Regions from separate parts of the Homo sapiens genome. Here all the other regions are linked to region 5. Evidence: promoter capture Hi-C in human tissues and cell types (Jung and others, 2019). All regions are on one chromosome and are shown on one strand. Each heading gives the region's core, a stretch centred on a gene start or on the middle of the fragment in contact. The rest is flanking DNA. Distances are from core to core; before and after follow the strand shown. Region 1 has its middle 74 kb from the start of LINC00400. Region 2 overlaps ENOX1 (ecto-NOX disulfide-thiol exchanger 1). Region 3 overlaps ENOX1 (ecto-NOX disulfide-thiol exchanger 1). Region 4 overlaps ENOX1 (ecto-NOX disulfide-thiol exchanger 1). Region 5 holds the start of ENOX1 (ecto-NOX disulfide-thiol exchanger 1).

Region 1 (3,947 bases), core at 826-3,325, 600 kb after region 5:
TTCTGTTAGGTGAGGCAAAATCTTCCAAGAAACAAAGATCCCTGGCTCAGCAGTCAGTCTGTTTTTGTTAACCATGAAAGGGCAGAAAGAAGCATGACAGTGGTTCCTCAGGCCCTAATTCTAACACATTTATGCATTTCTGCCAAGCTCATTTGAGTATGACATTGAAGTATGAGTATGATGTCTGGAACTGGGTCCTAGGTGATCCTGAGTCTCAGCTGGAGAACTGGTCCAGAGAGTATTTCAAGGTTCTGTACCACTTCAACCTAATCATTGTTTTTGTATATGACAGAGAACAAGCCTTGGAATCCTGGCATTAAAATCACATGTGGTCTCTGAAGGTAGAGTGTCATTTTATGAACAAGAGGAGAAGTCTGAATAGAAGAAACCTTTTATATAGCTAAAAAGAGCTAGTCTATACAAAATGGTGCAGAGCCATTTCTCCCAGCTCTTCCCACTAAACACACTATAAAATTTGGAAATAGTGCAGTAGGCCCCAAAGAAGAGAAAAGGGTGGTAAAAACAAGGTGAGCTACTGTGGGATTCCAGGACTTGAGGAACAACACAAAAGGAAAGTGATGGGGCATCTCGCATCCCAAATCAGGCCAAGGGGCCAGCATGAGACAGCCAGTTACAGTAGGTGGTCAGCCCTAAAGCCTCTTGGTCCCCATGGTCCTGAGACTCTTCTCCCCAACTCAGAGACACTGGGTTGGGGGCAGGTGGGAAGAGGTGGAGCCCCAGCAACCAAACTGACCCAAATAATACCACAAAGGCTCAGAAAATTAAAAAGCTAAAAAAAAAAAAAAAACTTTAGCTCATAAATGATTCTGATATTTTTGTAGCTAAGGATTAATAGGACAGGCTGGCATATATGGCAGCGTTGAGCTGCAGGACTAATAAAATGTTCTCAGTAAAAGGTTTTATCTAGAAATAGAGATGTCCAGGTAGGGTTGCTAGCAGTGAAAGCCCTTAACCTTAGCTTTATATTTTAAACACAGGCAGATTGAGGTTAAATTGAAATACACAATTTTATTGGTGTACAGGAAGCTAGAAAGAGACATTGGTCTGTACAAAGCTCTAAAATAAAATTTGATTTTCAGCTAAGGTGCTTTGGGGGAATACACATCAAAGCAGCTTTTGAATAAAATTGAAATGTGCTTTTGAGCAACATTTCAGGGTAGTGGACCCCTACCTGTATCAACAAGGCCTTACTTTTTTCAGGCCAATTTAAATATGAAAATAGACCATCTTCCTGAATCAGACCAGAATTTAGGATTCTAGTGCCATCATGAAAAGTATTATTACAGATGAGCAATGAGAAACTTTGGATAGTTCCTAAACTGTCCATATCTGAAGCAATAAACATCATAAGGTTGCCAGTTATCTGAAACCAAGCTGGGGAAGAAAGTAAAGTGTCGAGGTGGGTGGGAAGAATGTTTGACATGTTCACCAACATTTCAAAGAAAACAGAGGTCAGATATGAGAAATTAGTTAAGGATTAACTCAAGAATGTGAAATAAAACATCCCATATGGAGTTGCTATGTAATCAGTCAAATAACCAAACTGTCTCTTCTTACCCTCCCTCTTCCAAGATAAGATCCCTTCATAAATGACCTGTTCTGTAAAGAACAGTGGGAAAAATTGGTTCTTATGAAAATGGATTTGAAGCGTTTTGTTTTTTGGTTTTTTTTTTTCCTTTTTGGAGACAAAGTCTCACTTTGTCACCCAGGCTGGAGTGCAGCAGCGCAATCTTGGCTCACTGCAACCTCCGCCTCCCAGGTTCGAGCAATTCTCTTGCCTCCGCCTCCCAAGTAGCTGGGACCACAGGCACACACCTCCATGCCTAGCTAATGTTTTGGTAGAGATGGGATTTCACCATGTTAGCCAGGCTGGTCTCAAACTCTTGGCCTCAAGTGATCCGTCCGCCTCAGCTTCCCAAAGTGCTGGGATTACAGGCATGAGCCACTGCGTCCAGCTGGAAAATCAATTTTGAATTTCAAGAAGAGAATTTCCCTAATAACACCCAGAGGTTTTGAAAACAAAAACTGTAGCTAATAAAATCTGGTTGGATATATGACTTTCACAATGAAAAAGACTCCAAAATCTGTTGTACTTTTGTAGAGAAGTATTTTTTCAATCAGTAAGAGTCTGAAGACCACCAAGTCTACAAAGGCTGAAACCTCTGTCAACTATTGAAACAACAACTAGAGTCATGCAGCCAACTGCTCCCTGGAGCATGATGAAGATGCTCACTGTCATCTCTCCAGCAACATCCCATGTGGTTTTCTGCAAGTGTCTTTGTCTTAATTTCTAAGACTTTAAAAATGTAAAGAATTTCTAGCTTGCTAAAGTCTGTATTAAAAGAATGGAATATAATCTGCCAGATTAAAAGTGAGTTTAGGGTTTTTTTGTGACTTTTTCTTCATTATAAAAATAGTACACACTCAATATTAAAAACCTTTGAAAATACAAAAATATATAAAGAAGAAAATGTTTAAAAACCCTTAATCTCACCATCTAACATTAAGTTCATTAAAAATTGGTTTGTATCTTTCCAGCATTTTCCCTAAACATGTAACTTTTTTAAAAATTGGAATCATGCTACATGAAAAGTATGTATCATTTTCCTCTTTATATCTTATTCTTCTATATCAATAAATATTTTTCAATACATGATTTTGAATCACCACAGACTATTCTATCTCATAGATGTACCATAATTATCATCCTTATCATTGAATATTTAGTTGACATCCAGTTTTCTCTATTAAGAGTTTTAGTGAATATCCTTGTATGTAAATATATTTTCTGCCTCTCTAATAATTTATTTCTGATTTGCTCACAGAATTAGAATGGCTGAGTCAAAGGGTATAATGTGTTTAAGGCCATGGGCTAACTGAAACACTGCTTTTTAGAGAGGTGAACTAGATTATACTCTAATCAGCCATGTGTAAGAATGCTTGCTTTACCATATCCTTGAAAGAAATGATTCTTAACAAATTCGTGGGTAGACTTCTGTTTCCAGCATCGGCCAACTAGATAGTTTCAAAGAAGCCTTCTGGCTGAGAATAACCAGAGAAGCAGGATAATATATATTTTAAAAATATTTTTAAAGACATGAGACCTATCAAGAAAGTAAGACTTGTGAGGCAAAGATATGGAAGAGGAGAAAACCAAAAAAATGTAAACCCACAATTCAGAGTCACGTTGATACTTACAGCTGTTACTGATGTTCAAAGTCAAGGTGGCAGCTAAGAGTCTGAGAAACAGAGAAGGGCTTTTAACAGCTCCAGATTTAACAGTCAAAACTTGGAAATCACTAAGAAGAAGGGGCCCTGGTAAGCACCCTGGGCTTTCAGGATTGGAGGCCTAAAATGCGTGGGTGAACCAGCAACAGACCACACCTCACACTTAAGTCAAGCTTGATTGGATTAAGGTCATCAACTTCCTTGCCTAAATGCCTGCCAGAAACAAAGTAAATCCTCTCTGGAGGGGATAGCATAATCCAGAGCCACAAATTATCTCTGCCATTTTTCATGAAAAATATCTGAAGAGTTCAATAAAGAATAAATAGGTATACAAAAAAGCAAGGCTAAAGAGAAAAAAAAGAGAGAAAAAGAAACAGAAACAGAGCAGCGACAACAAAAACAATCCAGATACTGTAGCTGTAAGACACAGCTAGATATGTTCAATAAATTAACAAGAAGTTCTGACAAGAGTTAGAACCAGAAAATATAAAAAATAATCAAATTACATTCTAAAGCTGAAAACTATCAGTGAAATATAAAACTCAATAGATGGAAACAACATAAATATCCATCAACAGATGAATAAATAAAATATGGTACATGTATACATTGTTATTCAGAAATAAAAACAAATGAAGACTGCTACATGGTACAACATGGATCCACCTTGAAAACTATGCTAAGTGAAAGAAACCAGC
Region 2 (3,778 bases), core at 1,065-3,564, 520 kb after region 5:
GCGAGAGCAGAGTTAGAGGACATCATGGAATGGGAAGAATGGAGTTTATTTAAAAGAGAGGAGAGCAACTGGCACATTTATGTTGGTAAACACGTAAAGGTGGAACAGACATTCACAAAATAGTCCTCTACTTCTGCTGAAAAAGAACAAGACCTTCTGAGCTAACCCCACTCGAACTCATGGGAGCACAAGCTACAGGACCTAAGGTGGGATGAGCAGAGAGGTTGATGAAGATGAGGGATACCTACAATAAGAAACCCTCAGCTAGGAAAAGAGTGAGGGGATTTTAAAAAGTCCTTTTGTGTCCTGTGATAATAGACAGTATTCCTATTATTGTGGCACACCTCTGCCTTGTCATATATGCCATACATCGCCCATGCTCCCCTGTGTCTGTTGTGTGTAGAACCATCAATGATGTTGCCCTAGAGAACAGTGGGCAGACTTTTTTCTTAAGTGGGAGTGATATGGAAATGAGCCAAAGAGCCTTTGGTCCATAATCAACTACCTGATCCTCAATTTCTTCATGTTACCATTCCTTTGGCAAAACCCCTTCTTTGGCATGGAGCGGGTAGGGCTTTTTTTTGCTGGGAGTTTAAGACTGGCCTTAAAAAACTAAAGAAGCTTTCATTTTAATATGCACAAGTAGCCAGAAGGAACCAATGTTATGAATCAAACACATTGGTGGTATATGTGCATTGATTTTCTTTCAAATCTTAAGTATTTTTTCCTACCATGAATACTTTGTATTAGGTATAAAAAAGATAATGGAGGAGATGCTGCTTTCCTAAGTCAGGAAAAAATACTGGCAAAACAGTTGCAAGCCAGCTCACCCTCTTCCTTTGCCGTCTGATTCTAAATGTCTGTTTTGCGTCAGGATAGGATAAAATGACAATTAAAGGTTTCCTGAAACCTCCTTATAACTGATTACTCCTAAGCCTCTGAGAAAGAGAAATGTTTTCAAATGTTCACTGCTAAAAATCTCATTAGAGAAATATAATTTCTTCTAATGCCTCAGCGGCCAAGGAGATGTCATCCAAACTCTTTCTCTACCAAAGAAGCAACCGTCTTTAGTCCTCCAGAGATGTCAGTCATTCAAATATATTCTCAAGGAGGACCTGTCTGGTAGCACAGTAGCATGTTAAAAGCAGCTGAAAATGCATCATTCACGAATAATCGTTAATATAACATCATTTTGCTGGTGGCAACTTGCAAACACTGCAGGGTTTAAATTAATAGCAATCCAACTAGGAAATGAAATCATTTATTATTCTTAAGAACCAATTTTATACATTTTATGCCTATGGAACTGCTTTCTAATCTTATTATTTAAAAAATAATGACCAAGACCCATTTATTCTTTTGCCAGGCATCAAACTTCATAAAATATTGGTCTCAAACTGGCTCCAATAAGGCTCATTAGAAATATGTGCTCCATCTGTTTTATCTCATTGGAAGTTTTATAAAATGCAACCTCAGATAAATCAGTTAACAAGATGATATACTTAAGAGATTTGCTTGCTTATTCATTTTTTTGTTTTGTGTTGTTTTTCCTTAAAATTTGCAGTTAAAAGGTACCAAGGAATTGGTCGAGACCAATGGCCACAGCCATGAGGATTCAAATGTAGGTACCACAAACCTGGTATTTGTTCTTCTTGCTTGACGTTGGTTGAACACATGGGGATGTAGCACTTTATCTACCACATAAAGGAAATCAGAAGCTCTGCCTGTCAGCAGCTTAAGATTAATATATGGGTTTGGCAAGAAAATGTGATTGACAGGCACTGCTATTGTCAGCCTAGTTTATCAAATGTCAATTTAGAAGTATGTGAGCTAATCCCCACCATCAAAAATTCTAATTTCAGTGAGTCTGTTTGAGCTCTTTGTATTTCCAAAACTATAACTGATGATATACTGGGAGGGAAATAGCAAGAGACCCGACAGGGTAATCAGTTGCGCATTGCATGTATATTCATTAAGTTTGCCTGCCAGCGAAGGTGGTACCTAAATGACTGACATGCTGAAAAGGTCTCAGAGAAAACCCCTTCTCTCAGAATAGCCCTTGAAATGTACTCCTTCTCTGTTCCTCACCCAGAACAGTAGCACAGTGCATCCATCTTCTTGATAAAGAATAATGTGTGATGGTACAAGATCCCAGTTACACCGTGACTTCCTCTCTTAGTGTTCCTTGAATATCCAATTGTCAAAAAGTAAACAAGTGTTCTTTTTGCCTTGAAAGTTCTTTAGTCTCAGATGGAATATTATACCCTGTAGATCATTGCCTCTCCATATGTTTGATGATTTTGTCTTTTTTAAATCTCTCTGATATCTGTATTTGATTATCCTCATCAAAGAAAATGCTTACTAAGCAGTTCTTTTCACTGAACACAGAATTAGACATGATAATGAATGCCTGATTACACTAGAGCTAGGAGAAATTATATATTTCTTGTTCACTCTTGTTTTAATTATATACAACAGAGAGCCTAATATTCAGAGTATCAAAAAAATCCCACTTAATCATTATTGTTCCTACCCAGCAGATATTTAACATATGATGTTTATTGAGGACTTGTGTGCTCATAGGACTCTGCTAAGTTCTAGGGGAACAGAAATGGGGGTTACAAAGAAATATAAGACTAGTTGTCTGCCCTCGGGGAACTTACAACTGAGTTAAGGAATTAAGAAACACATGACAAGATACAGGACATGATAAGTGTACAGGAAGTTGAGGCAGCTATGATGTGATGTAGTTTGAAATCCAGACTTTGCTGCTTATTAAATGTATCAGCCTGACAAGTTACTTAACCTCTCTGAGCTTCCTTTTTCTCACTTGTAAAAAGAATGGCAAAGCCTATCTCAAAAGCATGTCATAATATTGTAATGAGCTAAGGCCTGGGAAAACCTTAAGGTGTTACACGTATGGTTTCTTTGTGCTAGATAATCAAGAAAGGTTTCCTGGATCTGTGGGACTTGGGTTTGGTTTTGGGGAGTGAATAGGATTGAGAAAGTAGAAAGCCAAAGGAGGAAGCCATTCATACAGAGCTCCCCATAGGCAATGTTGTGAGACATAGTTTATCTTTCCACTCTCATATTCATGACCCTCATCCTTACCCTAAAACCCTTCTTCAGCACCCTGTCTTCCAGGGACACAAGGCTGCCACATTCTCAACCAAAACCTTCATATCCACTCCACACACAGCCAGTCCCTCTGTGGCTTCCAGGGAAGCTGCTGTCTGTTCCAATAAGCCAGACAAAGTGGCAGTAGGCCTCAGTTTCCTGGTTTGTAAAATGGGGATAACTCCTACCTTGCCTTCCTTAAGGCTTATTGTGAGAAGCAAATGAGAGAATGTATGTGGAAGTACTTGTAATTGTGAGGTTCTAGCTAAGATGTTTTGATTATAAATTGATCTGCTGATTGAATTAGATGATACATGTATAGACAGGCCTAACACAGTATCTAGCCCATAGGCCCTTTTTGAAAAATTTTAAAAGTCACTTATTATTCAATGGAAAAAGTAAAGTGAGATAATCTTCGAGGTCTTTGTCCCTTCTACAGGAAAGTTTTCAGCTTTTTTAAGATACCTGTCTAGAGTCTATGACGTAGGCTTTGTTATCAACTCAAAGCAATGACTGTTGAGAGATGGGGTTCTGGCTCAGTAGGAAGGAAGAGCAGCACCTTGACCTAGGGGGTGGGGGAGATATTTGTGAAGTAACAGAACCTGACAGTCCTTGCCAGTCACTGCGGGTGGCCACCTCCCTCCCTAGGCAGAGGGCTGGG
Region 3 (4,099 bases), core at 1,389-3,888, 570 kb after region 5:
TTTTTGTATTTTTAGTAGAGACAGGGTTTTACCATGTTAGCCAAGATGGCCTCGATCTCCTGACCTCATGATCCACCCACCTCGGCCTCCCCAAATGCTGGGATTACAGGCATGAGCTACAACGCCCGGCCTAAGTCCCCATTCTTAACCCAAATATGCCTGACTATAAGAATGATCTGGGATGGTTGTTAAAAATAGATTATGTGGGCTACACCCAAGACCAGCTGAATCCGGATCTCCAGAGAAGAGGCTGGCTGGGGGATCTGATTTTTTTAACAAGTGCCTCCAGGTGACCGCTACTGAGAAAGACCTCCCAGCACCCCTGGTTGTTCACCCCTGGCTGTTGACAATCATGGGAAGTGCTTAAGGCACACCAATCAAGGCCCAGGCCCCAACCCATGAAAGAACCCTTGGGTTCTTTCCCAAGTTGTGTCTTTGATAAAACACTTAACCCTCTGTAGCTCACACCGTTTTCTGAACTATAAAATGGAGATGCATCTTAATATCTGCTCACGAATCTCACCAGAGTGCTGTGAGAATGAAATGAGAACACTGGTGGTGACTGAAAGAAAACTTACTTCTCAAAGTTATTATGAACCTTCACATAATCTGTCTCATAGGCTTTTGTCGGTTGACCTGGGAATTTAACCATCCATCTAATATGGTGTGTATCAGAAAATGCATTCAGATTTCAAAACAATTCCCAAAAATTTTAGAATACAATGTATTTCAATTTTCAGAACTGCCTCTATTTAACTAAAGTTTTGTATTATAGGCCCAGGAATATTGAATGTGTCATATGAAGTCTTTTCCATGAGAATATTAAATAAACAGTTGATTTGACTTCTTGGTCTATTTGGTGTCTCTTTTAAATGAATCCTAATATTGTTAAATGGAAAGTGTAGACTCTAAAATGATATCTCTACAGTGATTACACCATGAAAAAGTGTAATAGCTCTGATTCAATGAACATTTCTATGTGCCCATATCTGTGGTAAGCCAGTAATTTTCATGCTATCCTTATTAAATGTTATTTCCATTTGCTGAGGCTTAAAGAGACTAATTATCTCTGTAAGGGTCATTTAACTTGTGAGAATGAAGATACAGGATTCAAACAGAGTATCAGACCCCAAATTTTGGGGATATTCAAACAGAATATCAGACCCCAAATTGGCCGCCCTGCTGTATAAAATCCACATGCATACACATGGATTGGCATGCTAACACAGGACAACAAAAGCAATCACTGTGCTAGAGCAGAGGGATTATGGCTGATTTGTTCTTTAAAATGAATTATTGGTGTAAAAATTCATCAAATAAAAATATGGAGAAGAAAAAAGTTGCATTAAAAAATATACCTGAATTTTATGACTAGATATCAAGACTTGTATTGTTGTAGGTTTTGGAGTTTAGATTCCATTCCAAAAGCTTTATGGTCTCTGGTCTATGTGAAAATTAAGGAAGAGAAAGAAATTTGGGTGGCAAGAAATCCACCCGAATGTCTTCTGCTCCTGGCAGCATTAAAGAAAATTGCTGTCCTTCATAGATGAGGATGAAGCCACTAGTAGCTTTCCAGGAGTGGTGATGGATTTGCTGGGAGCCCTCTTAAATTCCCTCCCCATCTCCTTTTATATCAGGGGAGGGCTGTTCAGGAATGGTGCTGCCAGTAAGGTAGCCATCCATATGAAGGGTGAACTTGGCACTTTCCGCCCAGCCAACCCACGCCCCACCCCGCCAGCTGCTCGGGAGGTGGGATAATCACATTCAGTACTTCTGAATGTTCCTTCTATAAGGACATCCCCCTGACAGCCCAGTAGAAAACTAAATGCTGTTCATATCACTGGGAAAGCTCATCCTTCCCCAATCCATTCCTCCTTTAAGATGAGTTCCTTTCCCCAAAGTGACTTTCCTTCCTTTCTAACAGATATCTGCAAATGAAATAGAAATGCTTTTGATGAGGCTGCCACGCATGTTCAAACAGGAATTCACGGGTGTGGGAGCCACGCTGGAAAAAAGATGGAAGCTGTGTGCCTTTGAAGGAATTAAAACTACCTAACTGCGAAGAGCAAAGCATCTCTGGAAATGAAACCATGTGAACCTGGCCAGGGCGGTGCGACGGGGAAGCAGGAGGTGTGGGGTTGGTCCAGCACGCAACCTTTGTGGAGCCATCGAAGCCTGCCTTTAGTTATATCTGTGGCGTTCTCTTGTAAGTGGAAATGTAATTGTGTACCAGTTTCTTAAAATAAACAAAGCTTCATACTGTGACAGATCTGTTTCCTATGAAAACCAAACAATGATTCCACAGTCATAATGATGGCAAAATCTTAAAATGTGCTACATTTGAGAATAGCTCACCAAGCAAAATATTTAAAGTTAATGATGGTGTAGCAATGATTGTTGCTAGGCTACAGAGTTGTATATGTAATGTATAGCTGAAATCATTAAATGACATTTTCCTGAAAGTCTTTCTGTTTTAGTAAAAAAAAAAAAAAAAAAAAAAAGAAAAAGAAAAAGAAAAAAAGAAAAAAGAAAAAGTTTTACAGTGAGGGAAAAGCATACCAAAAGAAAACTTGAATATGTGTCTAAACAGTTATTGTATTTTGTAAATTAAGTTATATGCTGTTCCAGGGACTTTTGCCTTATTGAAGAGGCAGAAAATATGATTGGACACATTGAGAATGCTTTATCAAGAATATTATTTTTCTAATGTAACAATTCTCCATCATAAGTTCTTTTAACATGGACTGCATAACAGTTTTCATAAAGTGTAAATAAAGGAAAAACTAGTGTTATTGTCTTGTACTTGGTATGTAACATTCAGGTTTATGCATCAAAATAAACATTCAGTAAATATTCCTGTTACAAATTTTATAGCAAAGATATTAATTTTTTTCAATAAATATGACTTCTACCATATTGGTTTTACAAATTATTCTTTGATATATTTTATTTCTCCCTTAAGAAATCTTTTTCTCATTATTCAGTCCCATCTCATATCCTATTGTTTAAAAATGATAAAATAAATGAGTGACATTAAGAGATAAAACATTATTTCAAATAGGAATATATAAAAATTGTGGAGTGGAAATTACCAAGAAAGGAGATTATACAGCATTAATATACAGTGTTAGAGTAGATTTTTAAAAATAGTATGACATAGCATCCACAAATAATAAATTTTACCTTGTTTTGTGTCCTCCTGGGCAGATACAAAGTAGCCCATTAATCTTATTAACTCTTGCATTTATGTATCTGTATGTTTACTGGAAAACACATTAGAAAGGAAATTAAGGGATCCACACTTGGACCAACAATTTAGATAGAATTTGGGCTTCCCCTCTTTATTTTAATAACAAATGGGATATGACTTAAAATTTTGTCCCCTTCCTGCTATCCTACATAAGAATCACAAAAAAGACAAGCATCCTTAATTGTAATTGAAACATTTTTTAGGAAGACAGCTAAACAGTTAATGTTCTCTGATATTATGAAAAGATATTCATAATTTCTTATTGGACTTTTTGTCCTTTATTGATACCTTTATTGATAAGTACCTTTACTGATCTCTAATAAATTAAGATATTTACTCATACCTCCCATAAATATCTACACAAGTGTTTTGTTCAGGCTCAGGGCTAACACTATGAATATAAAGGTAAGTAAGAAAAGACCCTCTCCTTAATGTGCTCAGAGTTCAGTGTGAAAAAGACATTTTCGGCCCAGCGCGGTGGCTCATGCCTGTAATCCCAGCACTTTGGGAGGTCGAGGCGGGCAGATCACTTGAGGTCAGGAGTTCGAGACCAGCCTGGCCAGCATGGTGAAACCCCATCTCTATTAAAAATACAAAAAAAAAAAAAAAGTAGCTGGGCGTGGTGGCAGGCACCTGTAGTCCCAGCTACTAGGGCAGGAGAATCACTTGAATCCAGGAGGTGGAGGTTGCAGTGAACTGAGATTGCGCCACTGCACTCCAGCCTGGGTGACAGAGCCAAGACTCCGTCTTAAAAAAAAAAAAAAAAGAAAGAAAGAAAAGAAAAAAGAAAAAGGCATTTTCCCAAAAATTTCTATATGATGTGATTCTGGTAACAAGAAAGATATGACA
Region 4 (4,118 bases), core at 915-3,414, 550 kb after region 5:
TGCGGGGAGCAGTACCTAGGAGCCTAACTTTACATAATTACTTTTCTACTCTTGGGCAAATAGATCAATTGTATAAAAGATTTGATCTTTAGTTATAAATAGAAGTGATGACCTTATTTATAGAGTTTAAGAGATCTGGTGTTTTTTATTGACATGCACAGAATCTACATAAACCCATATATGGTTTTTGGCTTTTAACTTTATAGGAAATCAATGTGTTGACAGTTGCATTAGTCAACCAAGACCGAGAGAACAATATTGAGAAAAGAAGCCAAGGCTTAAAATCAGAGAAAGAAGCTCTGCTAATAGGTAAGGAAATTCTGTTTTCTTCATCTGTTCTCTTAAATAATTATTAGGTAATTAACTTAATATTTTAGTTATTAACTTATTAATTTAAACAGCATTGCCTTCTGGTAAAAGGTGAGATTAATTTCATCAAGATTATATTACATACATTTCAAATTAGTGGCATACAAACTAATGGGGGTTTTGCCTTTCTGTAACTGTATATATTAACTGATTGTCAGACATGAAACTGAGTTCAAGAATACGCTAAGTTGCATCTCACATGTTACAAATCTGAATTTCAAAGCTTGGGCATGTCACTTCCAACTGGAGGCCAGGTTGCATCTAGTTCCAAACCAAGCCATATCCCCAGGCTCAAGAGCAGCTTTGAACCCTGAGATTAAACTCTAAGCCCCTTAGCAGAGGCCACATCCTAAAGTCACTCCCAAGGCTAGACCTGCAATGCTGACAAATAGGGCCATGCAGGGTACTGATGCTAGGCTAATCCAGGACAATCGGCTTCAGGCTTCCCTGTCCAAGTATGGATCCTTTTGTCCAGGATGAACAAAAGAAGCATCCTCAGTGGATCCAGATGTCTTACTTATTTTCACGAGGAAGAATTCTTGATGAGGATGTGCCGGCAGTGTGCATGGAAGCCCATCTTAGATGCCTGTATGTTTAAGGCTGTCTTTGAAGCCCTCAAATTCAGAGGAAGGGAAGCCACCACCCTCATGCTGTGATGCACAGAACTGATTCAAGCTGCACCTTGGCACTGACCCCAGTGTGGGGTTGCCAGGTGAGACTGGCTCCATGGTGGCATGGTTAAGACTGAAGAATGAGGCCAATGTACATGCAAGACAAACTGTTCTTCAGCAGTTCATTATCTGGCAGAAATAGTGCCTGGTTGCATTTTTTTTTTTTTTTTTTTGAGACAGGGTCTCACTCTGTTGCCCAGGCTGGAGTGCAATGGCACAATCTCGGCTCACTGCAACCTCCTTCTGCCGGGTTCAAGTGATTCTCCTGCCTCAGCCTCTCTAGTGGCTGGGATTACAGGTGCACACCACCACGCCCAGCTAATTTTGTATTTTTAGTAGAGATGGGGTTTTGCCATGTTGGCCAGGCTGGTCTCAAACTCCTGACCTCAGGTGATCCACCTGCCTTGGCCTCTCAAAGTGCTGGGATTACAGGCATGAGCCACCGCGCCTGGTCCCTGGGTGCATTTTGTAAATACTGCATGTGCTCACCTAAAAATGACAGGTACAACAGGACCTAGAGAAGCTGGCACATGAGGAATTAAATTCAAAAGACAGTCCAGAGTCCATCCATCATATATAGATTTTTCAACTACAGGGTTATTGAATATGACATCAACTTAGAGATACTCCCAGGAAAACCAATTATTTTTTTTTTGCTCTGATGATATACAGCTGTAATAACATGCCATGCATGAGTCTCAGAAGACATGCTGATGTGCTATCAGTTCCAGGAACCCAAAACGAACCCATATGTAGTTGGTAACTGGATTTTTCTTCTATTGGAAAACATGTCCAAGTCTGACAACTGTTTCTCTGTCACTCAGTGTGACCAAGGTGTGATTTTTCCCTATAATGCTTTTAGGGTATGAACAAAGCAATTAATGATCTGCAGTAAACTTTTCCCTCTTTAAGTAGGAAGAATTCTGTCCACTTGAAGGTTAAAAAAATGGGAACCAGTCTCTATTTTTTTATTTCCTTCCTTTCACTAGAGATAGCTGCTTCTTTTATGTTTTAATTGGAGAACACAGTTCATTTAAAATGTTTTCTAAGTAGTTATTAGGTTTTATTTATATATGTATACACATACATGTACTTTTTTCAGTTGGCTACTTCAAATATTTTTAAATGATGTGCTTTATATGCAGTACATTAATGGGAGTAGGTAGGAAGATTACATTTATAACATGCTATGCCTGCTGATGTCTTTGGTATCACAAAAAACTATATAAAATTAGTTAAATCAAGTGTGTTAGAAAGAAAAATATTAGTCAGGATCTCCAATAAAAAGCATATACAACCAATTCTAAATTTTCCAAGACTTTTCCCCTCACTGTTGGTCTTTTGAACTAGTTTACTAATATTAGCATTTGAAGTTAGGAGTAGAGCAAAAGAGAAACAGGGGGTGACACTTATTTTGAATCAATATATGAGAACATTTAGGTAGAAGGGAGGCCAGAGACTTAAGTGATTAAAATAAACTTAGGAGTTTAACTTTCCCTTCAGTTATCCATTACCTTGCTACCTTTCTCAATATTTTATTTTATTATTCTTAATGACAGTTTGGCAACAGATGTGATTTCCTTGCCAAACCCACTTCCAAAACATCTATATACTTCTACTCTTTTGTATAATCCTCCAAAAGAGGATAATCCTCCAAAAGAATGCCACAATGGGAAAGAGTTTCCAAGACCAGCAAAATGGATCCTGCCAAAAGCTGCAGTTTCTGCCTGCCACTAAATGATCCTATCTACTCATTGAGTTTGGTCATTCATACTTTGTAGATACCTGAATCTTGCGTCCATAAAGAGCTCCCCTGAAGCTTCTGGAATCTAGATACAGACTGTGGTAGGGACAAAACTGCTCTGGATCAGAATAGAGAAAAAGGATTTCCTGGTGCTGGGGCTACACTTTTCTGAAGAATTCTCATGCACTGAATGATTCTAGGAGCCCTCTGGCCTTCTGGTACATCTGGAGCAGTCATAAATACTCTTTGCAATTCCCCCTGAAATCTTCCCTTGGAATAATTAAGTCAGTAGAGAGGACACAAAAGTCATGCTCTAGGCCAGCCTAGAAGGCCAAGGACACAGCAGAAAATCTCCCACAACTTGGAAACATTAATTGGCAAAATCTTCATCATATCTGCATGCTTATAGTGTATGCTGTATGCCAATATAGTCAGATGATCAGTGCCCTCTTGGGGCACATAAATGTTATATAAGAAACGCACACTGGCAGAAAGCATTCCCTGGAAGAGAAAGGGAGTGAGAAAAAAGCTCTTCAAATGGATTCCATCTACAGAAAGAATAAAACTGAGGCTAGAACTTCCTAAACAATGAGCAATTCTAGTTACATATAATTATTTGTGACACTGATTTATCTGGGCAAAAGGGTGTATTCTGCCCAGACATTCTTATGACTATTGTATAAAACTAGAGTCTTTATTTCAAGGCATAAAGTTGATATTTATTAGAGAGGATCCGTGGGATTTCATTGACATAATTTGGAATTTTGCAGATCTGGATCCTGAGTATTATTAGAGTTCGACCATTCTGATGGACTTTCTTCTTGACAATTAATGGGTCTTCCAATTCAACTAAAGAAGACAGGCCCCTGGAAAATACTTTATTTTTGTGATTTCTGGGTTATTCATTTTGTAATCAATTTTTGTGGAGACAGGTTGACATATAATTGGACCTTAGAGAATTCTGTTTTTATGGGGGCATTGCAGGGTAGCATTTTGTTTCATAATGCTATAGTAACCACACATAAGGTCAGCTTGACATTGCTCAATGTCTATGCCAGAACTAGTTTATTTCACATATGGCCTGCATGTTGGATTGGCATACACTGAAGTTGTTTGGGATAGAATGAGTCATTACTTTTGATTTGGGGCCAAAGTTTGGGAGCTGTGTTTGGCTGGATATTGTTATAAAGGAAAAATGGATCAAATTTTTTTTATTGACAAGCTAATAGTTCTGCAGAGAGCTGAGAGTATAACTCTCTGGGTCCGTATCACTCTATATTCTCTTGCTTTTTATAATAATTCCAACACAATAGATTTCAATCCCAGCAGCTCTG
Region 5 (4,136 bases), core at 653-3,152:
GTATTGGTCAGTGTCCATGAACACTACTCTTTACAGGAGAAAAATGCGTACCTGATAAGCTATTAGAAATGTGTATTTCTGGCCTGGAGCGGTGGCTCATGCCTGTAATCCCAGCACTTTGGGAGGCCGAGGCAGGCGGATCACTTGAGGTCAGGAGTTGGAGACCAGTCTGGAAAACATGGTGAAACTGTGTCTCTACTAAAAACTAAAAACTAAAAAAAAAAAAAAAAAAAAAAAAAAAAAAAAATTAGCCGAGCGTGGTGGCCGGCGCCTGTAATCCTAGCTACTAGGAGGCTGAGGCAGGAGAATTCGCTTGAACCCGGGAGGCAGAGGTTGCAGTGAGCCGAGATCGCGCCACTGCACTCCAGCCTGGGTGACAGAGCGAGGTTCCGTCTCAAAAAACAAAAAACAAAAGTGTATTTCTCTTAAAACTGTTTTCCCCATCCTTCTGCTCTAGAAGGGACAGTATAAACTGCTGGTGAACACTGACTTTCACATTTTGAGAGGTTAGGTTCTGAGCTTTGGCCCCCTCACACCCAGGGCATCCCACTGGGGTCCCTGCAGAGTGCTTCTACATGCATCCTTTGTTAAGGGTGCACAATGGATAAGTATTATTTTCTTTCTTTGCATTGGGGTTCTGACCGCCAGGGGGAAAAATAGCCACACACAAGGAAATGGCATAAGTTAAAATCAGGCAAGCCTAGTGGGGTGGTAATGACTTTCCCAGCATCCAAGTCTTTGCCTTCAGGTTACGTGAAGCTAGAAAACAATGTCATTCATTCAACATTTACAGGGAACTCACAAAGTACAGAGTACTATGCTAAGCACTGGAAGGCATGCAAAAGTGTGCAAAACACAATCCCTGCATTGAGGATTCCTGCCAGAAAGGGTATTTCAAGTATTACCCAGACCTTACGACCCTTGAAGAAATGCTTGTGTGAATAAAATCCCACTCAGAATTTAAAATAAGCAAGGAAAAGTATACTACTAAGACAATATATCTGTTAAGAGGCAGAGAATGTAAATGTGCTTTAAACATTTATTTCTGAAGTATTACAATGTAGTTGGGATGGAGGATCGGGGGATGTGGGTGTGTGTGGGGAGGTGGTGGGAGCGGTTCTTGGACGAGCCTGACTCTAAGGAGGCACTGCTTAGATGCCTGCACAGCTAAGTTGAATCCTAACAAAGAGGAGGCCGGCATTCTTACCTGGGAAGTGGGTAACTTTGAGAAAAAGTAGCCTCCAAGGAGGAAAAAAAGGCAACATGTCACCTGGGGTTAGGATCCCCTCACCCTTACCAACCTGAATGCTGACCGCACCCCGGCCGAGCCACTCTGGGCCGCACACCCCGCATCATCTGCCCAGGCCACGCGGCCCAATTCCACCGTCTACCCCAAGCCCACAATCCTGTAACACGCCCGCTCCAGCCTGGAGTCGGCCACGTGCGCCCGGGTTCTTCTCTTGGCCCTTCAGCGGGCCCGGCCCCTCCAAGGTCGCCGTAGCAACCGTGCGGTCCCTCTCTCGGTTCCCCCGCTCCCAGTAGAGCAGTCCCGACCGCGGCGGCGGTGGCGGGAGCGAGCGGCCTCGGCCCCTCCCGAGAGGGGGCAGCGCGACCGTGGGCTGCGGGCGCCGCCTCTGCTGCATCGGTGGCTGCGCGCTCCGCTCGGCTCTGCCGGGCTGGGATCCGGAGCCCTAGCGCGCCTCGCTGACTTCCCCTCCTCCTCTGCTGCCGCCCCGTGGGCAGCTTCTCCAAGCGAGACACGCGTTCGATCCTCCTTCCCCGCGTTTACGGATTTCCGGGGTCGTAGAATTTTGCCTCGGTCCCTACGAGCATCTCTCGGCCTCTCTCCCCCTCCCCTCGCGACTCCCCCACCCCGTGGGCGCGCGCGCACCCATACACTCACACTCGCAGGCGCGCGTGCGCACGCCCGCGCGCCTCCAGCCGCGGAGTCTCCAGCGCCCCTCAGCAGATCCCCGCTCTCCCGGGCGCCGCTACTCACACAGGCTTCCAGCCGCCACGGGGCGTCCTCTGTCTGCTGCAGCGGCGGCGGCAGCAGAGGGAACGGCGACTGCAGCCCGGCCGCGTCTCCCAGCTCCGTGCCCGGGACAGAGTCCGGGAGAAGCAAAGGAGGAGGAGGACGCCGAGGCTAGGAGGAGCCGCGCCGCGCCCGGCGCCCCACTCCGCGCAGCGGGTTGCCTCCGCTCCCCATACGGCGGCCCCAGGTAAGCAGCTCCGGGGCCCGCAGCCTCCCTGGGGCGTCCGGGCTCCGAGCCGGGGTCCTCTGGTCTCACCCCCGCCACGGCACCTGGATCTAGACTGAGAGGGGAGTGGGCGAGGGGGGAGGGGAGTGGAGCTAGAGGTGAGGCTGGTGAGGAGGGGTGCGTGGACGCGTGGGGGCTTCGGTGCAGCCCCCACGCCCTTCCCCGCCGTGCCCCGTCTCAAGCTCCCTCACTTTTACGCGCCCGGGGGTGCCCAGCGCCCCAGACAGCTGTTCCCCGCTCTCCCCTCCGCCCGCCAGCCAGTGTCAGCTCCGGGCTCCGCGCCCGCCGCGCGCCAGTCACCTCCCCTGCACCTTGGACAGCGCACCCCGCACCCGTCTCCCCCTGCGGGCGTCGCCCCCGGGACCCGTTCCTGCCCACACAGTGTTCCCGCTGCCCTCTTCTTTCAGGTTTTCACCCTCCCGCTCTGCATCCCTTTTCCTCCAGCCTTGGCGGACTCCGCTCTGCTGCGGGCCGGAAACTTTCCTCCCCGCCTAGTCTGCGCTGGGTACTGTTGTTATTCGTGACTGTCCCCTCTCGCGGGGAGCTCGGACACCTTGGACAGGTCTTCGTCGGCGGGAGCGCGCCCTGCCTGGCCCAACGCGAGGTAAAGGAGGCACTGGGGCAGCCGGACTCGGCCGCTGCCAGGGTGCAGAGCCCGCGCCTCGGCCGCTGGACGCCGGCCGCCTCCCCGCCTCTCCGGACCCGACACGTGCGAGCCTCCCACGGACGCGGCCCCTCCCAGACCACCCCACGTCCTCCCCCTGCACGGCCACAGCCACCCCATAGGTTGGACACCCGGGGCTCGCGGGTCCTGATTGGCTGAAGGCGTAACCCCGCCCTCTTTCGGAAGGGGGGTGGTTCTGGAGTGTTGTGGTTGTCATCCCGCGGCGAGCACATGGGGAAAGTGGGGTCGACAGGTGGGCAAGCCCAGCTCTGTGGAATCTCTGCGTCTCACTGTATAGCCACTGAGCCACGCTTCTTCACCCAGATACACTCCTGCTTCTCTCCTTTTCTCTCCCTCAATCTTTCACTGCTGTAACATTACATGAAAAAAACTGGCTTTGTAATCCCAATTTTGTTAAGATTGCATTTGTTTGGTGGTAGCAATTTTTAAAAGCAGACCCAGGAGAATGCAGGAAATACGTGCGTATGGAAAGGTTCCTGGCCAACTGGGCTGCAGATTTGAGTCTGGTAGTTTGGAGAAAGCAATGAAGCGTGCTTAAGGGATCTGAAGAGGGTGGAGAAAGTGGGAAGGAAATTGATTCCTGGAGGAGAGACGCAGGTGAGCGAGCTTGGAAAGCTGAGCTGGTGGGCCCGCTCGAGAGGTGGGTGCGTGCTGTTGGAGACGGCTCTGTCAAGCAAAGTGGTAATATTGGCTGGTACTTAGTTTATGGTTAACACACTCTGCTTTTGTTTTACTAGCGTTGCCACTTTGATAGAGACTTTATATTAATAATGTCTATTCATGTAATGGATATTGCTCATTCCAGTTTCTTGTAATATACAGATTTGAAAGTGATAATGAGTTTGAAAAAGTGAAAGCCCTCTTGGAGGAGATGCGTTAAACAGTTAAAGTGCTTTCGGAATATTGTGAGGGAAGACGGATGAGCATTGCATAAAATGCATATTGTTCTGGCATTATTTAGAGCCTTTGAAGAAATATATGTGTACGTATAAATGATACTGATTTCTCTTCATTTCAAAGCGTGATTGCCTCTAGCATTTTCCAGCTTTAATTCCTTCAGGCTGTTTTGATGTTGTGTCTGTACATCTAAGAATATTGTAATTCTTATCTTTAGAAGCCTTGTCAATGTGAAACAAACAGCAACTGATGCAAGTTAATGTTGACAACTTTATATTGAGTACACTGTGTGT

The links. Contacts are between HindIII fragments. The study calls those that stand out against the background at their distance.
Region 1: a contact is called between a fragment that was not itself captured here and the fragment with the promoter of ENOX1 in region 5, in 3 of the 25 tissues and cell types used here (IMR-90 fibroblasts, lymphoblastoid cells and mesenchymal stem cells).
Region 2: a fragment that was not itself captured here is called in contact with the fragment with the promoter of ENOX1 in region 5 in 4 of the 25 tissues and cell types used here (IMR-90 fibroblasts, aorta, mesenchymal stem cells and 1 more).
Region 3: a fragment that was not itself captured here is called in contact with the fragment with the promoter of ENOX1 in region 5 in 3 of the 25 tissues and cell types used here (dorsolateral prefrontal cortex, heart left ventricle and mesenchymal stem cells).
Region 4: a contact is called between a fragment that was not itself captured here and the fragment with the promoter of ENOX1 in region 5, in 3 of the 25 tissues and cell types used here (dorsolateral prefrontal cortex, heart right ventricle and mesendoderm cells).

The regions. Positions count from the first base shown.
Region 1 is chr13:43,184,834-43,188,780 of GRCh38, reverse strand. No RefSeq gene overlaps it. Among named protein-coding and RNA genes, the nearest start is that of LINC00400, 74 kb to the right of the region's middle. The HindIII fragment of the contact is 4,181 bases long and covers 1-3,947 here.
Region 2 is chr13:43,263,241-43,267,018 of GRCh38, reverse strand. It overlaps ENOX1 (ecto-NOX disulfide-thiol exchanger 1), which reads left to right. Exons shown (of 17, transcript NM_001347969.2): 14 at 1,565-1,621. Among named protein-coding and RNA genes, the nearest start is that of LINC00400, 150 kb to the right of the region's middle. The HindIII fragment of the contact is 6,675 bases long and covers 1-3,778 here.
Region 3 is chr13:43,211,947-43,216,045 of GRCh38, reverse strand. ENOX1 (ecto-NOX disulfide-thiol exchanger 1) reads left to right here. Exons shown (of 17, transcript NM_001347969.2): 17 at 1,925-2,916. The coding sequence ends at 2,056. Among named protein-coding and RNA genes, the nearest start is that of LINC00400, 100 kb to the right of the region's middle. The HindIII fragment of the contact is 4,030 bases long and covers 624-4,099 here.
Region 4 is chr13:43,232,827-43,236,944 of GRCh38, reverse strand. It overlaps ENOX1 (ecto-NOX disulfide-thiol exchanger 1), which reads left to right. Exons shown (of 17, transcript NM_001347969.2): 15 at 207-309. Among named protein-coding and RNA genes, the nearest start is that of LINC00400, 120 kb to the right of the region's middle. The HindIII fragment of the contact is 4,042 bases long and covers 144-4,118 here.
Region 5 is chr13:43,784,738-43,788,873 of GRCh38, reverse strand. ENOX1 (ecto-NOX disulfide-thiol exchanger 1) reads left to right here and starts at 1,902. Exons shown (of 17, transcript NM_001347969.2): 1 at 1,902-2,222. The HindIII fragment of the contact is 9,406 bases long and covers 1-4,136 here.